Regions from separate parts of the Homo sapiens genome. Here regions 1, 2, 3, 5, 6 and 7 are each linked to region 4. Evidence: promoter capture Hi-C in 16 types of primary human blood cells and fetal thymus (Javierre and others, 2016). All regions are on one chromosome and are shown on one strand. The core of a region is centred on a gene start or on the middle of the fragment in contact, and the rest is flanking DNA. Distances in the headings are between cores, read along the strand shown.

What was found. The method cuts DNA at HindIII sites, captures the fragments that hold promoters and counts their contacts. A CHiCAGO score of 5 or more calls a contact.
Region 1: a contact is called between a fragment that was not itself captured here and the fragment with the promoter of ZNF326 in region 4, in 3 of 17 cell types (non-activated CD4 T cells, naive CD8 T cells and total CD4 T cells). The highest score is 6.8, in non-activated CD4 T cells.
Region 2: a fragment that was not itself captured here is called in contact with the fragment with the promoter of ZNF326 in region 4 in 2 of 17 cell types (erythroblasts and megakaryocytes); the score reaches 5.5 in erythroblasts.
Region 3: a contact is called between a fragment that was not itself captured here and the fragment with the promoter of ZNF326 in region 4, in 14 of 17 cell types (non-activated CD4 T cells, total B cells, naive CD4 T cells and 11 more). The highest score is 14.4, in non-activated CD4 T cells.
Region 5: a fragment that was not itself captured here is called in contact with the fragment with the promoter of ZNF326 in region 4 in 12 of 17 cell types (fetal thymus, naive B cells, total B cells and 9 more); the score reaches 9.2 in fetal thymus.
Region 6: a contact is called between a fragment that was not itself captured here and the fragment with the promoter of ZNF326 in region 4, in 1 of 17 cell types (naive CD8 T cells). The highest score is 5.5, in naive CD8 T cells.
Region 7: a fragment that was not itself captured here is called in contact with the fragment with the promoter of ZNF326 in region 4 in 8 of 17 cell types (naive B cells, total CD4 T cells, megakaryocytes and 5 more); the score reaches 6.3 in naive B cells.

The regions. Positions count from the first base shown.
Region 1 is chr1:89,500,658-89,503,357 of GRCh38, reverse strand. No RefSeq gene overlaps it. Among named protein-coding and RNA genes, the nearest start is that of LRRC8B, 23 kb to the left of the region's middle. The HindIII fragment of the contact is 5,382 bases long and covers 1-2,700 here.
Region 2 is chr1:89,650,793-89,653,492 of GRCh38, reverse strand. The region is part of intron 1 of LRRC8C (leucine rich repeat containing 8 VRAC subunit C); the gene reads right to left. Among named protein-coding and RNA genes, the nearest start is that of LRRC8C, 19 kb to the right of the region's middle. The HindIII fragment of the contact is 725 bases long and covers 1,055-1,779 here.
Region 3 is chr1:89,517,659-89,520,358 of GRCh38, reverse strand. No RefSeq gene overlaps it. Among named protein-coding and RNA genes, the nearest start is that of LRRC8B, 5.8 kb to the left of the region's middle. The HindIII fragment of the contact is 3,959 bases long and covers 1-2,700 here.
Region 4 is chr1:89,993,720-89,996,419 of GRCh38, reverse strand. ZNF326 (zinc finger protein 326) reads right to left here and starts at 1,310. Exons shown (of 12, transcript NM_182976.4): 1 at 1,147-1,310. The coding sequence starts at 1,162. It also overlaps the pseudogene GEMIN8P4. RefSeq lists enhancers at 595-644, 526-1,091, 1,092-1,658 and a silencer at 865-1,504. The HindIII fragment of the contact is 7,808 bases long and covers 10-2,700 here.
Region 5 is chr1:89,602,584-89,605,283 of GRCh38, reverse strand. No RefSeq gene overlaps it. Among named protein-coding and RNA genes, the nearest start is that of LRRC8C-DT, 29 kb to the left of the region's middle. The HindIII fragment of the contact is 1,609 bases long and covers 565-2,173 here.
Region 6 is chr1:89,583,350-89,586,049 of GRCh38, reverse strand. LRRC8B (leucine rich repeat containing 8 VRAC subunit B) reads right to left here. Exons shown (of 6, transcript NM_001369817.2): 5 at 1,261-2,700. Among named protein-coding and RNA genes, the nearest start is that of LRRC8C-DT, 48 kb to the left of the region's middle. The HindIII fragment of the contact is 1,459 bases long and covers 704-2,162 here.
Region 7 is chr1:89,621,169-89,623,868 of GRCh38, reverse strand. It overlaps a transcript of LRRC8C not described here. Among named protein-coding and RNA genes, the nearest start is that of LRRC8C-DT, 10 kb to the left of the region's middle. RefSeq lists a silencer at 645-939. The HindIII fragment of the contact is 8,438 bases long and covers 1-2,700 here.

The DNA of each region.
Region 1 (2,700 bases), core at 23-2,522, 490 kb after region 4:
GATAATCGTCTATTCTCCTAAAACAGAATGTATGATTTTAGACCCAGAAAAACCAGAGCAATCTGACAAGTTAATAACTCCAACAACAAAATCACAAAGACCCCATTGGAATATGAATATTTTGGGAGTTATAACAAGGACATTTGAGACCTATTATGCTCAAATGGAATACTTTTCAGTTTCCTATAACATCTGCTTTCTCATTGCCAGCCAAAGAATGGTAATGTGATTGAGCTACATTTTTAATCTCTGGCTTTCACATTGTTTAAATTTGTTATGCCAGAATATTTTTTAGCAGATGGCATTTCAATCTTTGTTTAAGATTTTTTTTAGAACAGATTCTAGAAGAGCTGACAACTAAATTCTCCTTAGGAAGTGATTCTTTATCTGTACCAGTGGAAATAGATTCAGATCACAACTGGCTTAAGCTGACGTGAGAAGCAGTGGTATTAATGATTGGTATCTGCTGCTAGATGACCAATTGTGATACTTAATTCCCTACAAAATCATACTAGCCTGCAGTTTACTGTTATCATTATTTTGATTTTGTGTGTGTGTGTGTGTGTGTGTGTGTGTGTGTGTGTGTGTGTGGGATAGGGTCTCTCTCTGTTTCCCAGACTGGAGTGCAGTGGTGTGATCACGGCTCACTGCAGCCTTGACTTCCCAGGCTCAAGCAATTCTCCTGCCTCAGCCTCCCAAGTAGCTGGGACTACAGGTGTACACCCACCACGCTCAGCTAAGTTTTAAACATTTTTAGTAGAAACAAGGTCTTACTATGTTTCCCAGGCTGGTCTGGAGCACAGGGCTAAAGCAATCTTCCTGCCTCAGCCTCCCAAAGTGCTGGGATAACAGGCATGAGTGACTGTGCCCAGCTATTTTGAATTTTTATTGCAACTAGAACAATCTAGCCTATACTTTGCATATACCAATGTCTAATGTTTCTATGCTTCTTTTTCAGATGTATTCGTTTTGTAGTGAATTTGACTTTAATGACCTTTTTTTTTCCTTCAATGCCCACACAAGTCAAGATAAAGTTACCTCTCAATAAAGGGGACCAGGCCCTTTTGATGCATTCAATGTTATTTTTCCTCTTGTTAATTTTTGGTGCTCTGCCATAGTTGTGACATATGTAGCACATGTTATAACACACACATACCCTGGAGAGGCATGTCCGTGGAATACTGAAATGTAGCAATGGTCTCATGATTTTGAATAAATCAAATCTTATTTTCTTCCTGATAATAGTTTGTTTTTAGATATGAATTCCAATAAGCATTATAGAATACTCTTTTGCAAAGTCTACTGCCATTGATGGATGAATATAAAATTATTGGCTTACAAAGAACTAAGTGGAGATATATCTCATTTTAAGCAAACTATTCATATAGAGATCACAAACAGAATTATAAAAATGGCTAATTAGGAGTGGTTATTTATTCTATGCAAGGATAGTTCACAGGGTTCGTTTAAATTGTGAACTGTGATTTAAACATAATTAATAATTAGATTTTAAAAACTTAACTTGTGTACTGGCTTTAGGGATGTGCCTGCTACCATTACACATCAGATAAATACATCAGATGTATTTATCTGAGCCGCTTCCTAAAAAATATATCCATTCGGATGTGGTGCTAAATTTAGGTGAGATTACTTTTTAAATTTCAAAAATATATTTTCTTCTCTTGGAACATGGAGGGTAGAAGAAAGAAACACAAGTATCACTAATATTTACTTAATGCTTAGTTTTTAAAGACTCTTTCCTAAGTGCTCTCTCAGCAACCCATTTAGCCTCGGAACAATTTTTTGAGATGGATGTTCCTATCCTTATTTTGCAGATCAGAAACAGAGGCTTACAGGTAACCATAGCTATACAGCTAGTAAGAATTAAGGAATTAAGGCCCATATGACTCCAAAGTTTACCCTTCCTTAAAAAAATTATTTCTCCAACCATAAAAAGTACAACTAAAAAAACCTTGTTTTGGAATGAAATTATATGTATATATATTTAGTAAAAAGGGCCAGCTTGTTATACTCTAGTGCATGTAAAAAGGTTGTCTTTTCTAGTTAGCTACCTTTAAGCTAAGGCAATTTAGGCCCTTTCAAATTGTGGATTTAGCGTTTTGAAAAAGACTGAAAATGCTTGTAAGAAAATGATTCATTGTATGCATTATAGCCTACCGGCATATTTAATGCTCAGTTTTTATAAGTAAGCCATACTATATATAGGGTCATATTAGCCATTGAAGTCTGTCTTTATGTAAATGGAAGTCAGTTCTCATTGGTGCTATCCCCAGCAATACAGATGGGCTATTTGTTGCATGGTGCCAGCCTGTAGAAGGAAGGATCTTAGAGTGCCAAAGATTGGTTTGACGTTTGACTTAGATTTGAACTAACTACCATATGATGACTCAAGTCATTTATTTTGATCATAGTTTTCTTCATTAGCACTTATTACTGCTCTAGAGATTCAATCCTCACACAAAGGGTGGGTTCCTGAAGGCATCTGGGTTTCCCCTTCTATATCAGAGACCATGGATATTTTATTAATTGCAGTATGTACTGGTATGATTCAGTAGTTTCAAATACTTTTGAAATGCCATAAATATAAATAATTCTTTGTTCTCTGTTTATGAAGGGATCACAAGGTTCAAAATCTCTGGCCTGTTATGATGTATTTTATTTCATTCTCAAAGTGGAGCA
Region 2 (2,700 bases), core at 168-2,667, 340 kb after region 4:
TCACAAGAATACTAAACATTATTGGCCTTTTAAATTCATTGTCTTGTGACTGCACAGTGAAGCTTTCTAGAGGCTACATGATACATGACAGTGAACAGACTGATTGCCAGACATTAAAGACATTTGCAAAAACTTAAACACTGACATCTTTTTGTTCTTTTGTTTTGGAAAATATAATTTCAAAACATATGTTACTTGTGTTAACATTCAGTGGCATTATTGTTATTTTAAAATTAATAAATAATCAGATTTACATTTCTGAGCTCTTAGGGGTTAGAGCTCTTTGGAATTTTCAATAATTTGAGTACAAATGCCCTGAGACCAAAAGGTTGGCTAATGATTGCTCTATACCACAGCCAGAGTGATCCTTTGAAAACGCAAGTCAGATTAAGAACTCTCTAATGGTTCCTCATCTCATTCAGAGTAGAGGTGGACAAGACACTTCATGAGCCTACAGCACCCTCTCTTAACGACCACTCTCCCTATTGTTCAGAGCTGTGCACCCACACTGGCCTTCTTGCTGTTCCTCCATAATGCCAGGGGAACATATTTATATTTGCTGTCCCCTATTCTCAGACCTCTCCTCCATAGATATCTGTGTCTCCCCACCTCCTCCAGATCTTTGCCTTATGAGCTGTATTTTTAATTGTGTCCCTTTTCAGATGTTTATATATTGCAACGATTCCCCCTTCTCCTGTGATACTGCGACCCCGTAACTTGCCACTTGTATATTTGTTTACCCTATCCTTCTGTCATAGAGTAAGTCCTCTGGGACAGTGGCTTTCTTTTTAATCCCCTAGAAAGCCAGTGGATCTGGTGATCTGCACCCAGTGTGGTCCTCTTTTATTTTCCCTTTGATCCACCGCTGAGAGCCTCGTACCTAGTGTGGTCTTAAATGATAATGCAAGACTGATCATAAGGGGTTATCTGATTAAACCTTCAGGCAAGACCACACTAAACCCATGACAGAGAGCCCCAACTCTGTTCTATTTTTAAGATATCCCAGAGACCCAGCCACTATGCAAATTTGTGAAAAGGTTGATTACTTGAAGCTTCAAAATTATTATTCTTAACCACCAAAATCTTTGTGCAGCAGGTTAAACTCTTATCTCTTTTCAGAAGAGATGCAAAATTGCTCCTCAGATTCAGAGACCTTTTCATACCCCTGGAAATAATTACTAACTTTTTCCTGGACCCCATCTTAGCAGCAATATCTCAATTCCTTTCATCTTTCCCACATAGATCCTGTTTTCAATGCTCTAACCCACTCTGTGATGGTCTTCTGATTCTTTTCCCATTGTTTTATCTTCATATTTCATTGTGTATCTAAATTCCAACAAGGTATGAGTTAGTGTGGCATCAAAAGATTCCTACAGTTTTACTTTTCTTTTACTGCACCCCAGCACTCCAGTGTATGCTTTTAAAAATATACTACATTGCCTTGAAAAAGAAAAATAGTCCCAAACCTGTTTGTGTGATATTACTTACAACCTCCTCTCAGAAAGAAATGAGTGTTCCTGACAAAATGCTTCTGTAATTGATTCTCATGAACTTTAATGACACTAGGACTTATTTTGGGAAATTAGATATGACCCATGCAGTTGACCAGCTGTCAACCAAGAATTTAGTGACCTTTAACAAAATATTGTTTTATTTTGATGTCAAATCTAGTAATTTTTCTAACAATTCTCTTTTGCTACAAAATGTCCCTATCAAGAGCAAATCTCTGAATTAGCCTACTAACAAACTCCTCCCTTACAGCAAGTTTATTACAAAGCTTTAACATACACTAACAAGTAAATTGTCAATCTTTTTTAAAATGCAAGGATCCATAAACTTTTTCCTATAAAGGGAGGGAAAGCAAATACTTAGGGTTTATAAATCATATGTGGTCTACGTTGCTTTTTTTTTTTTTTTTTTTTTTTGAGACAGAGTCTCGCTCTGTCACCGAGACTGGAGTGCAGTGGCGCGATCTCAGCTCACTGTAAGCTCCACCTCCCAGGTTCATGCCATTCTCCTGCCTCAGCCTCCCGAGTAGCTGGGAGTAGAGGCGCCCGCCACCATGCCCGGCTAATTTTTTGTACTTTCAGCAGAGACAGGGTTTCACCGTGTTAGCCAGGATGGTCTCGATCTCCTGACCTCGTGATCTGCCCACCTTGGCCTCCCAAAGTGTTGGGATTACAGGCGTGAGCCACTATGCCTGGCCTATGTTGCATATTCTTTTTAAAAAATTTAAACAATCCTTTAAAAATAGAAAAGCCAATCTCAGCAAGTGGGCCATACCAAAACAGTTTGCACTAACTCAAAATGCATGGGCCACAGCTTGTCAATTCCTGTTGCAATGGTTCTCAGAACTCCCTTGGAGACCTGCTCACCTCAAGAGAAACAGTTATTGTCAGCCTCTGGATCAAGGTACTTCATGGCATATATGCTATTGTTACCCACTGTGTTATGCTTCTTGATCACTGGATTATTTTTTTTCTGAGATATGGCAATTTGAGCACTTGAATGTCAATGTCTAATGGCCATCTGAAGGGACTCCCATTCTACTGGGCTTAAAATGACTTGCCATCTAAGTTGAGAGCTTGGAGAGCTGTTTGAGCTCTAAGAAGTGGTTGAACTTGGGGTTGGAGTTAAAACAGGACTCCTCCCCCAGGGTGAAATCAGAGCAGTATTTGATATTGGAGGGATGTAAGTGTG
Region 3 (2,700 bases), core at 79-2,578, 480 kb after region 4:
AAGAAAATCTCTGAGTGTCATCAACATTAAGCTATGCTCCATGTGGCCACCTTGATAAGAGTTTGATTTTCTCTGAGTCTTGAGAAAATTTTTATGATAAATGGAAGACAATCTTATCCAATACTAAAGTTTTTTTTCGATTCAGTGTTTGAAAAATATGAGAATGAAAATCTTCTATTTCTTTAAAGAAATAAATGTATTAAACATTGAATTTATATCTATTAAGTAAACATTGAATGCCTACAACACATAAAAAAAGCACTGAGGACCTGACAGAGGTGAGGGAGAATACCAAGATAAATATAGTAATTCCTCTTCTTAAATATATTGTACTCTGGTGGGGAAGGCATAACCATAGAGAACACAGCCTCCTACAGGGGAGTTGAGGTTGGTGCAGGACTGAGGGAGAATCACACTGAACAGAGATCTGAGGAAGTTTACCTTCAGGGTTCTAAATTAAAATGTTTCTTTAATGATATACATTTTATTTTTTAACTTTTTTTTTTGTTTTTTGAGATGGAATCTTGCTCTGTCACCAAGGCTAGTGTGTAGTGGCATAATCATGGCCCACTGCAGCCTCAACTTCCTGGTCTCCAGTGATCCTGCCACCTCAGCCTCCCGGGTAGCTGGGATCACAGGCGCTTGCCACCATACTTGGCTAATTTTTGTATTTTTGGTAGAGACAGGGTTTTGCTGTGTTGGCCAGGGTGGTCTCGAACTCCTAAGCCCAAGCAATCCACCTGCCTCAGCCTCCCAAAGTGCTGCGATTATAGGCGTGAGCTACCATGCCTAGCCATGGTGTTTAAATTTTGTCTCAGCATCGTGGATCAAGTTTGTTCTAATGAAGTGTCAGATCAGAAGAAAAGAACCAAAGTCTATGAATCAAGGCCACCCATAATTTTGCATTCTTGGCTGGGCGCGGTGGCTCACGCCTGTAATCCCAGCACTTTGAGGGGCCAAGGCAGGCGGATCACAAGGTCAGGAGATCGAGACCATCCTGGCTAACATGGTGAAACCCCGTCTCTACTAAATAATATACAAAAAATTAGCCGGGCGTGGCAGCGGGCACCTGTAGTCCCGGCTACTTGGGAGGCTGAGGCAGGAGAATGGCATGAACCCGGGAGCTGGAGCTTGCAGTGAGCAGAGATCGTGCCACTACACTCCAGCCTGGGCGACAGAGCGAGACTCTGTCTCAAAAAAAAAAAAAATTGCATTCTCAGGAAGTTTGCCAGAGTCCCAGTGGTTCAGCTGTGTATGATTGAGCACATTGTTGTTGATGAGGAATGTTTAGTTATTTATTTTTGGTTAAGCAGTTTGTCGTGTTTTTCTGACATGTTGCAGAGATTTAAAATGAGTTTTCTTTGGGCCTGGGACAAATTCTGAGAATGACCCTGGAGAATGAGCTCAGTGGTGAGAATTCTGAAGATGGGGTGAGTTGGATATTGCCCATGTGTTCAGATTAAGGTAGCTTGATCTAGAAATTCAAACTGCAATTGTGCAAGACTGGCTGAATAGGAGCACAGACTGCAAGAACATAGAATAACCAGTTGTGACCATTTCAAATTGGGACTATGATTGGGGATCAATTCACACAGAATTGATCACTACCCACTGTGGTGACTGCCCACTCTGCCTGAACTATACTATGCCCTTCCTTATCAAACAAGTGCTATGAAGGTGACCTTCCAGACCTTTCTCCTAGGAAAAACACCAATTCCTGCAGCGGGATGCCTGACATCCTCAGTTGATGTGTCTTCTGGGAAGTCGTCCAAAAACTTCTTTGAAAATTTCCCATGCGTCCCTTTTAAAGAAAGAATATATGCTGTCATCTGGGTCACGTATGGGAATCCACCATGGAGCAGCTAGGCAGTTATTGACTCTTGTCCTTTTCATATCTGTAAAAAGGAAATGACTTCCAAGAAAATATTTGTAAGAAAGCCAGGCTGAAAGTCCACAATTAAAGCAGAACTGGTGCTCCTCTGCTCCTTGAAGTGGTCTAAAAAAAGCCCTCATGAGTTCTGCTAGTGACTGAGATATTTGCTGGGATCCCTGGGAGGATTCAATCTGTGTTCCCTGAACTCTGTTGAAATCTGGGCCAGAGGTTTCTTGGTGCTGTGAAAGCAGCTGGCCTTCTGAGGTTCCTCATACTGAATGCATCCATTTCTTGGGTTTGGAGTAACTCAGGTCTGACACTAGCTAGACCTTGATTTTCCGTTTTTTTTTCTCGGCAGCTGTAGGGTTTTTCTTTTACGTTCTCAGCCTAATATAAAACCATCTGTTAATTATAATACATTAGAACACTAGATTTCATTCTCAAATTGATTCTCTAAGAGTAGGAGCTGATATATGTCTGTGGCTTATTAAGAATTTGCAAAAACTCAAAATAAGTTATAAAAGAACAAGATTCAGAATTTGATAGAGCTAGAAAGGAAAAGATGTATGCTAGAAAGAGCACTGGACATGGGGTCTTCTCTTGGATTCAACTGGTGGCTCTGTTGGCCATGAGACCTGGGGCAAGCCATTAATAGTCTAGATAGGAGTTTCTTTTTTCAATGTGTTTTTATATCTATCCTGGACTATATAAGATGTTTCAGAATTCTTAGAATTCATTTTGTTTCATTTATTCATTTACTATACAACAAATATTTATTCTATGCCTATGATGTGAAAAGCATTGTAGGAGTTTTCGGAGATACATGA
Region 4 (2,700 bases), core at 61-2,560:
ATGAAAGCTTTAATTCTTTGTTGCATGAAATGTTATGAAAAATCAAAAGCTCATCGAGTAAGACATATGCTGAGATCACACCTCATTTAAAGATCATTTTTTTGGTGGGGTTAAAAGTTTACAGCCTACTTAGTGAACTGGTTTTACTTAAGCATGCCTGGTTACTCAGGATTAAATCCAGTTTAATCACATAAGTCCTTTCCCATGTCTCCCTAATGTTGTCACTACATACCACTTTATCTTGACACCAATTCCAAGCAAGGTTTGAAAACAAAAGTGAAGACCAAATTAATATTACTTTGTGACCCTGTAAAAGTGGTTTAAAGAATTAGTATCTGAGACAACTGAAAAGTATTGCTAAAATACAGTTTATTTAATCCGTAAGTCAAACACTTACAAGGCTGTGTACAGGTCTAAATGTGAAGGACATTTGATGCTTGCTGTGCCAAAATTCTGATTAACTTAAATCCTACCTACACACGATCCAAAGAAAAGTGCTTTGGTTCACATAAATATTTCAAGTTAGGGATTAATAAGCAGGTAATTTTTGGTGATAAACACCCCAGTTTACTAACCAGGAAACATCTTGCTTTCCATTTTGCATAGATATTTATCTATACATATCACTTACAGACACCCTTTCAACTCATCTTAAACCGGGACAAACAGAAACATCACTGTGAACAAGCCTCTGAAAATTCTATCTGGCAAGAAGTAACCCGAGGCTGAGGATTAACTAAACGGACGGTCTGGGTCGCTGCCCTGTGGGGCGAATGCGAGACTAGGTGGGTGAGGCCGCACTCGCCCGTTTGCCCGAGACCGGGAAGTTGGAGACGTCGGGGCAATTTCCACTACCAGGGGCCAAGGCGAGTCTGGGGCTCCAGCCCGGAGGCTCTCGCGCTCTAGGCGCGTCCTACCGGACACCGAGTTCTCTTGTCTCCGCCGGCAGCGGGCGCCGAGCGGGCCGAATCGGGGCGCGTGGGTCCCCAAAGAGGCCGACTCCGGGCGCTGGGCCCGGGGCGGGCGGGCGGCCTCCGGGCCCGCAGAACAAAGCCCACACGGCCATCTTGAGACGGTAAACAGACCCCCTGCGTAGGCCACCCCGCCTCCTGCCAGCTGCGCCGACCAGCCAGAGGCAGCGCTTACCGTCCTCGAAGTCCATGGCAGAGGCTGAGGGCCGTCGGCCTTGGCGGCGCTAGGCTGAGCTATGGCCGGCGGCGAGCGTCCGCGACCCGCGATTCCACACGATCACTCCGCGCGACCGAGAGCGGCGCGCTACCAGCCCGGGAGCCGCAGGCCACAGCGAGGCTGGGGAGGCGGGGCCGACCGGCGCTACCAGCCCCATCGGCGCGGCCTGCTATTGGCTGACGCGGGCTGGTGGGCGGGCCCTCGCGTGGGGGGCGGGAAGCAGGTCCGCTGTCACGCTCGGAGGTGCTGACCCTCTGGAGCCGCTGACGGGGAAGGAAGGTAAAAAAGGAGCGCTAAAGATTGGCGGGGGTTGTGGGAAAGCAAGCCGAGTGTACGGGAAGGGCCGGCTGCGGCCCGCCATGTTTGAACCTGGCAAGAGCGAAAGAAGCCGGTTGGAATGCCTTCTTCCTGCCCAAACTAATAAAACCGCATGCCTACCTTTTGCTTAGTATTGGCTAGGGATGACTAATCATAACATTTGTAAGTACTTACGGGGTTTCCTCCATGGAGACACAGAAGTCTGGGACGTTTCTAGAAGCCTGTGGCAAATTTGAAAAGCAAGATACAAAATAGCGTATGGAGTCTGATTATCGCTATGTCAATAAATTTTCTTAAAGGACAAAGCACTGAAATAAAATGGAAATAATAATTCTTTTAAAAAATTTTTAAATTATTTTTATAGAGATGGGGGTTTTGCCATGTTGCCCAAGCAGGTCTCCAACTCCTGGACTCAAGCGATCCCCCCACCCCCAGCCCCGTCTCCGCCTCCCAAAGTGTTAGGATCACAGGCGTGAGCCAATGCGACCCGCCTGGAAAGAATTCTAAAACATGGCCTGCTTGGCCACCGCCCAGGATCTGCAAGCTGCGCGCCCACAAGTTTCGGCACCCATTTGGACTTTCACAATCGGAGATGGCAGTGGTGAAGGCATCAACATCAAAAGCTACCAGGCCTTGGTATTCTCATCCAGTATATGCAAGATACTGGCAACATTATCATCAAGCAATGGCTTGGATGCAAAGCCACCACAATGCCTACAGGAAGGCGGTGGAATCCTGTTTCAGTCTTCCATGGTTCTTCCTTCCTGCGCTTCTTCCCCAAAGCTCTTACGATAACCAGGCTGCGTATCCTCAGTCCTTCTATGACCATCATGTGGCCTAGCAGGACTCCCCCTGCAGTTCTTCACATTTCAGAGGGTCTGGGCAACATCCACATGGCAGCAGTAGGATCCAGGCATCCACAAGAGAAGACCAAGCCTTATCCAAGGAGGAAGAGATGGAGACCGAGTCAGATGCAGAGGTAGCATGTGACCTGAGCAATATGGAAATCACCGAAGAGCTCCGCCAGTACTTTGCAGAGACAGAGAGGCACAGAGAAGAACTACTGCGGCGGCAACAGCTGGATGCGGAGCGCCTGAACAGCTACGTGAACGCTGAACACGACCTGTACTGCAACACCCGCCGGTCGGTAGAGGCCCCAGCTGAGAGGCCTGGTGAGCGGCGCCAGGCCGAAAT
Region 5 (2,700 bases), core at 120-2,619, 390 kb after region 4:
GCAGAATCTCAAAGCTCAGCATCAAGATTTCTGGTGAACATGGATGCTGTTTACACTAGCTTTACAGTCTAGTCAGGGAAACAGACACTAAATAAGTCATAGTTATCAAGAGGATGGATACCTCAAAGTATAGTACCAGTTGCCCTGGGAACAAACAACAGGGGGATCTAAGGATGGACTGGTCAGAAAAATGCCACCTTGAAGAAGTGACCATTTATACTGAGAACTGGATGAACAGGAGTTAGCTAGGCATAGGAATTAAGGAAGAGCCTTTTTGGCAGAAATGCATGTGCACAGACCAAGGCAGGAAAGGACATACTTTGAAATATTTTCTATCATCTTTGGAGGAAAACTCATTAAAGCTAACGTAGAAAGCAACCACTAGGGTCAGACAAGATGCTAACATTTTACACATATTATCTCGTGGAATCCTCTTAAGATCTTATGAGGTTTGTTTCTATGAGGAGTGGGTCTTATTTGTCCCTGCTGTCCCCCACTGTATTCACAATACCTTAGGCAGCATCTGGGTAAGTAGCAGACACTCAATATTTATAAAATAAAGCTTACATTTTACAGACGAGGAAGCTGAGGCTCAGAGGTACAAGATGACTCAAGAGTTACTGGTGAAAATAGGGCTCTGATCCAGGTTGGAGATGAGTACCTTCTGGGCTGTCAGTCCAGGAAAATGCTCTTGTCTTCTTCCAGATAAAGCAGAGACTAGGCCGGGCCTTGGACAGTCTTAGACTGGGCATGAGGGCACAGAGCAAGTGAACAGCACATAGCTATGTCTGCCCACTGCATTATCAGATGAACCTGGTGAGCGCATAGTCTGCCCTTGGAGCTGGCACCCAGGTGGGGCTGTACCCTAAGACCAGGCAGAAGTTAACATCTCTCAGTGCACTGAAACCTAGAGTCATGTTTCTCCAACGGGGAGCCTGTTAGCTGACCTGACACTCAGGTCTCAGCTGAACAGAAACTGGAGAACTTAAAACTGTCAGGCATCTATTTGCCCTAGGTCAGACTCTGGGAGGAAAGCCAGTGATAAAGGGTCAGCCTCAGCTTTCAAATTTTGGTGTTAAAGCCCAAGACAGCCAAGTACCTCACAGGTCACCTTTATACCTGTGCAACCTCAGGACATTTCTCTTAACTGGGAATTGTAACCTGAGCATTGTGAAGGCCCTGCTGGGAATGTTTCTAACTGTACTGCCCTAAATAGCTTCTCTTCACTGTCTACTTGGCTCTCCTGACGGGGAGGCACTGCAGAACAGCCCTTTAAGATAATTCCATCCTCCTTCACTTGCTATTATGCTTGAGGTTCTTTAGTGAATAAAAGTCTTATTCATGTGTCATAAAAGTGAATCATTTCCAAAGCTGAAAAAAGAAATGTATGACATACTCAAGTTCTTAAGAAAATTACTCAGTATTAAACATGATCAACACTTCCCACTCACTCAGCATTTTATGTAGATCAGAATATTGGAGTTGGAAGGCCAGCTAGCGAGCATCCAAGCCCACCCACTCACAAGGCTCAGTTAGGCTGCTACCCTGTGCATGCAGATCACACTGCAGATCACACTGGAAATGGCAGGATCACGAGGGCTAGTGCTGAAGCCCAGAAGTCAAAAGAACCCTATTTTCTCTCCCTCTGTCAGACATCCTCCAGCATCCTCACCAACTTCCCCAAGCCACAGCTTACCCTGAGAAGCATGTTAATTTCTTCCAGGCCCTTCTAGTCATTAACTTAGCTGGGGCCTTTACTGATGATCTGAGACAACACCCAAGCCATCTGCCTTATTTCCAGCATGAAAAAATTCTCCATGGACACTCTGTTCATCAGGAGAAATTATTATACTCACTACCAGAGAGAAAGAAAAAGGGAGAAGAGCTAATTTCTTTCATCTTCTAGAAGAAAATTTAAAAATAGTGCAAAGTCCCAGTAAGGTCGTTTGGTAAGTCATCTTCCTTTCATAGAAGAGCTCAGTGGAGAGGGCCTGGGACCCCTTAGAGCCACAGTCCCACTGTGTAACGGGCCTTGGGGACACCTGAGCAGGTGACTCACGTGGACCTGACATGACAAACATTTCAAAGGGCTAGCGTTTTGAAGAACCTCAGGGGAAATGCCAAGTGAACCAGTGTTAAATGGCAGTGGATTGTTAGAGCTGGGGTTGAAGCTTTCTTCCTGCTTCGTAGTGCATTCAGCCAGAAGGCAAAGCCAGGGTCACAGCATCTTCCAGGGCAAGGAAGGCAGCTTCTTATCTGGAACGTGGCATGAATTCAATAAGGACAGCCTAACTTGTCCCTCCTCCTCACTCTTCTCACTCTCCAACATTCTAAATCAGCAGAAGAACAAATTTAGCCTGAACTGTGATTAGAAGTCATTTTGTAAGTCTAAAATGTTTGCCAGCATTTTCCTATAATAAATCAGCACTCTCAGGGAGTTAAACTGGAACTTCCATTCTCTAATAAAACCCAAACTGACGTGAGCCTCATTTGCAAACTGAAACAAAAAACACTAAATGTTAACAACTCTTTTTAAGAGGTTGGGGTCATTATCCAACATCACCCACAGGGTCAGAAATCCAGCATGACACTCCATTCTTCTAATGACAGCAAATGTAGATTTAGGTTAAAACATTAAAATATAAACTATGCACTTTCAAAATAATCAAAGTTTATAAATAAATGGGTTATTTGGAAGAA
Region 6 (2,700 bases), core at 184-2,683, 410 kb after region 4:
AATGGACTCTCTCCTTTTACATATGAATAAAGTCTGAGAGTTCTAAAAATCAGCATGAATTTTGCTCTCATCCCCCAATTTTCTGGTATTTATCTAACACCCATGTTTTTCAAAAATAATGTATGATTAATATGTTTATTAGCCAACACCATGCTCATAGCTATATTTACCATGACATATGAACTACAAAAAGTCTAAAAGATAATACATTTTCTTTCTTTCTTTCTTTCTTTTTTTTTTGAGACAGAGTCTCGCTCTGTTACCAGGCTTGAGTGCTTGAGTGGTGGAATCTCGGCTCACTGCAACTCCACCTCCCGGGTTCAAGCGATTCTCCTGCCTCAGGCTCCTGAGTAGCTGGGACTTCAGGTCCGTGCCACCACGCGCAGCTAATTTTTGGATAATATATTTTGAAGTGTGGTGGAATAGCTGTACCCATTTTCAAGTAGAGGAATGTCAGTTTCATCCCTTGGTAGATTTGATTTCTGACCAGGTTTTCCCTCTTTCTTCCCAAATGGACATTAGCCTCACTCTCTTGCCTTTAGACTACAGTGAATTTTTCCTTTTTCCTCCTCCTCCATATCTTAACCTAGGAAACTACTCATTTATTTTGTTTTTTCATGGTTTGGTAAAGTTAAGTTTTCTTTAATTTGGTTTTACTATTGCAAATTTGGTTCATTCTAAAGCATGGATCCTGGAAAAAGCTTCTAAGAAGCTGTAGTGTTGCATTATAGAGGCAGGCCTTTCATTTTGAATCATCTTTCTAGACATGCATGCAGATTTCAAATCTTTTTCACCACATCACAAAAAGGATTTATGAATAATTCATAATCCCAGCATTTTAGAACAAGAAGTTATTTTATTATGACAGATTTGGAAAGCTGAAAAGTTTTGCCAAACTCCCTAAATACCTAAAACCTTTATAAAACAAAAAGTAAGCTCTACCATAATGAATTAAATAGTTTAAAATACTTTGTGATGTTTATGTAGAAAACTGGGAAAAAAACAAAGAGAAAAACATTTGCTGAGCAACTATTATGTGCCAGGAACTGTGCCAAATGCTTTTATGTTTTTTCATAAAATCTCCACGATGACTTGTAATTTAGGTTAAAAATGGATGCTCAGTGTTTTGGTAATTTATGCAAGATCGGATTGGGCTTGGCTTGAGAACACACAGTATGATTTGAAGTGTGTTTTCTTTCCCTATGTAATGCACTATAAGTACGGCAGATACTGAATAAAAGAAAGAATGGATTTACTTACATTGTTGTTGGTCACAGCAAAGTACTGCAAATTACTCAGATACTGGATTTCTTCTGGAATGAAGGTCAAGTGGTTATAGCTTAGATCCAAATAATGTAGTTTAGTGCATAGGAAAAGCTGCAAGGGCAGATTCTCAATATTATTATGGTCCAAAGAGAGCTGCTCTAGGTTAGATAATGCCCCAATCTGTGCAGGAATATAAGCAATGTTATTGTGCCACAACTTTAAGCAGGAAAGATTCTGAAGATGCTGAAAGCTAATGATCTCTTCCACAGTTTTAAGGTTATTTTCCCTTAGGTCTAACTCATGCAAATTATTCAGGCTGAAAATGGAATGTGGGATGCGTTCCAGGTCACAGCTGATCAGTTCTAGGCTTTTCAGATTGACCATCTTTTTCAAGTTGTTCAACACAACCAGTTTGCTTCCCTCATTATCAAGGGACAGTTTCTGCAATGAAGGCAGGAGGTCTGTAACAACTTGTGGGATCCGGGAGAGGCTGCTCTTCAAGTACAGGGTCCTTAGATTTTTTAAGTCCTGAAAGCCCTCCAACTGCATAGTACTCAACTGTTCAGGGAGAACACAGCCCGAAAGATAAAGTTCCTTGAGATTCTTGAGGTGAAATACCCAGCGTGGGATTTTTCCCATTTCAGTAAATTTCAGGCGGAGGATTTTTAAATTCTCCTCTAGAAAGGCCAGTGCAGGATGGTCTACGACCAGAGATGAATGGTACACACGAAGCTCCTTGAGGTTGACCAGCTGTGAGACTGCAGAGGGCAGCTTCACCTCTGGGATAAGCTCCAGGCTTAGCACTTCCATTTCAGTTAACTCAAAGACATTGTCTGGAAGACCGTTGAGCATAAAAAGATGCAGTTCTATCTTGTCCTGGGCATTTTTCACAAGCTTACTTTTCAGTTTCTCAACTGTCCATTCATTATTGAGGTTGATCTGTTTCAGTTTGTTCTCACTGACCTCTGATAGGAATATGGAGAAGCGTTTGGAATAAAGAGGATCATACTGATCAGCCAGATGAAGGATGAAGGCAAAGTCATTCTTGACATCAGGGATGTCACTGTAGTTGCTTTTTTCTCTTAACGCCTCAAAGGAATATTGCTTCAGGGAACTCCTCAGCATCCACCACAGGCTGTAGGAAGAGGTCAGACCATAAAGTATAACCAAAATGACATAAAATGAAGCCAGGACCTTAAAGATTTCTGCCAAGGAATAGACACACTGGTAGCGCTTATATCCTGTAAAAGCCTGCACATCAACTGAACAGTCGATTTCAAGAGTGATGTGGGTTAAAAAATATGGAACATAAGTTATGATGAGCACAAACAAAATGACTTTGACTATTATCTGTTTCAGATATACTCTATAAATGATGTCCTTCTGCTCCACATGCATGCGGAATCTTTTCACTTTTTCAAAGATGGCTTTGGC
Region 7 (2,700 bases), core at 117-2,616, 370 kb after region 4:
TAGCTTTTTCCTCTCTACTAGGTGGAAATTGATGGGATAACTTGATATACTTATCTACCCTCCCTCTCTGAATCATTCCTGGCCTAATGAATATTCTCTCCTATGAATGCTTTTCTAGGCCTGTTGTGGCATTTTTCTTTTTTTTTTGAGATGGAGTCTAGCTCTGTTGCCCAGGCTGGAGTGCAGTGGCACGATCTCGGCTCACTGTAACCTCTGCCTCCTAGGTTCAAGCAATTCTCTTGCCTCAGCCTTCCCAGTAGCTGGGACTACAGGCACATGCCACCATGCCCGGCTAATTTTTTGTATTTTTAGTAGAGACGGGATTTCACTGTGTTAGCCAGGATGGTCTTGATCTCCTGACCTTGTGATCTGCCCACTTCAGCCTCCCAAAGTGCTGGGATTACAGGCGTGAGCCACTGTGCCCAGCCTCTCTTGTGGCATTTATGATAGCCTTCCATCCTTGTTTCTGAGGAAGATTCAATAGAGAGCTATTAGAAGTGATGTACTCTGATTAAGGAATTTCAAAGAAAAGACACCATTAATTTAAAGTCCAGCATGATAACATTTCATTACAATGATGAGACAATATTTTATATTCTATTTTATTTTGAAAAATTATTTAAAAATCAATTCTCAGTGAAAAGGAATTACCATGTTACATTAAAGAATGTGTGTGTGTGTGCGCATGTGTGTGTGTGTGTGTGTGTGTGTGTGTGTCTGAGTTAGTTGCGTTGATAGCTTCCAAAATGAAAACACTAGGGTTCAGATAAGATGAACTGCTTCCAGTGACCAAAAGGAGGAGCATTTAACCACAACATGAAAACAGCTTATGGTCTCATTTAGGAGACTGAAAACATCTCTGATCTCTTAAGTGTCTCGAATATTCTTTAGCTTGTAAAATGCTCCAGATAATAGCTATTTATATCTGATCTGATACCATTTTATATTAATTGTTCATTTTATTGGCTTAACCAAAATTCAAAATTATACCTTCTATAATAATATATCTGATCATTTGCTTTGAAACAAACACTTTCTGATTGAAAAATTATCAGAGACTTTAAAGTATAACAGTATTGATTTAAGAGCAACCAGGTCTGCACATTTGTAAGATGACAAGCAAGTTGTAGGCTGACAACTTGCTGCAGTGATTTGAATGATACAGACAAGGTAGCTGATTAACATTTGCTGAGGATTTACTCTACGTCAGGCATGATGTTAAAGATTTCACATGTAGGCCAGGCGCGGTGGCTCACCCCTGTAATCCCAGCACTTTGGGAGGCCGAGGCGGGCGGATCGCAAGGTCAGGAGATCGAGACTATCCTGGCTAACACAGTGAAACCCCGTCTCTACTAAAAATACAAAAAAATTAGCCAGGAGTGTTGGCGGGCGCCTGTAGTCCCAGCTACTCGGGAGGCTGAGGCAGGAGAATGGCGTGAACCCAGGAGGCGGAGCTTGCAGTGAGCCGAGATCGCGCCACTGCACTCCAGCCTGGGCGACAGAGCGGGACTCCATCTCAAAAAAAAAAAAAAATTTTACATGTATGATTTCATTTCATCCATGTAACAACAGGATAACAGGTAATCTTACTATTCCCATTTCACAGATAGGGAGTCTGAGGCACATACAGCTAATGTCACTTGCCTAGCCTCATGCTGCTAGTAAGTGGCACAGCCAGGAGTATAACCCGGACAGCTTGACTTGAAAGCCCACACTCTTATCACGCCCTTTCTATCTTAAAACATCACAGTATTTTAAACTGCTGGAAAATGTCATTTTTTCCCCCTAGAGTGCTAAACAAAAATAAACAGTCTTGCTTATCTGGAGTTTCATACCTAATTATCTTCACATATACGATGTTTTTGATCTTCATTTCTCTACAGTGAATATATTTCAGGACCATTAAGGGTGAATTGGTATGCATCAGCCCATGTTGACTGAGAAAAAAAGATACCGTATAGCCCATTTTGAGTAGGGAGACATTCTAGTTATGCCACTTGGAAATGTTTCACATAAGGTTTTGCTGTATCCCAGACTCCTAACATAGATGCATTTGAAAAATCATTTAGTAACCTAAAACAAATACCAAGAGATGTTGAGTGTCTTTAAGTCTATATCCAAAGAGGGAGGAAAGAGCAACAATATTTTAAAAGTTACTAATTCTCTACCTGGAGATGTTTCCATTTTTCATGATTATAAAGACTATTACTGCCAGCCCCAAACTGCCCAATTTCCAGGTTCCCCAGGTGGGCACATTGTGATGCTGCCTAGGCTACAAGTCACATCACAATACTTTTCCTCAGATCAGACTGGCAGCTCAGCCTCTCCAGTTTCCCAAGGAGGGTGAGGTGAGGAGTGGTGCAAGACTTCTGAGTGCTTTAAGGGGAAAGGAATTTTTTTTTGAGATGGTGTCTCGCTCTGTCGCCCAGGCTGGAGTGCAGTGGCGATCTCGGCTCGCTGCAAGCTCCGCCTCCTGGGTTCACGCCATTCTCCTGCCTCAGCCTCCTGAGTAGCTGGGACTACAGGCGCCTGCCACCACGCCTGGCTAATTTTTTTTTTTTTTTTTTTTTTTAGTAGAGACGGGGTTTCACCATGTTAGCCAGGATGATCTCGATCTCCTGACCTCATGATCTGCCCGCCTTGGCCTCCCAAAGTGTTGGGATTACAGGCGTGAGCCACCGCGCCTGGCCAAAAGGAATT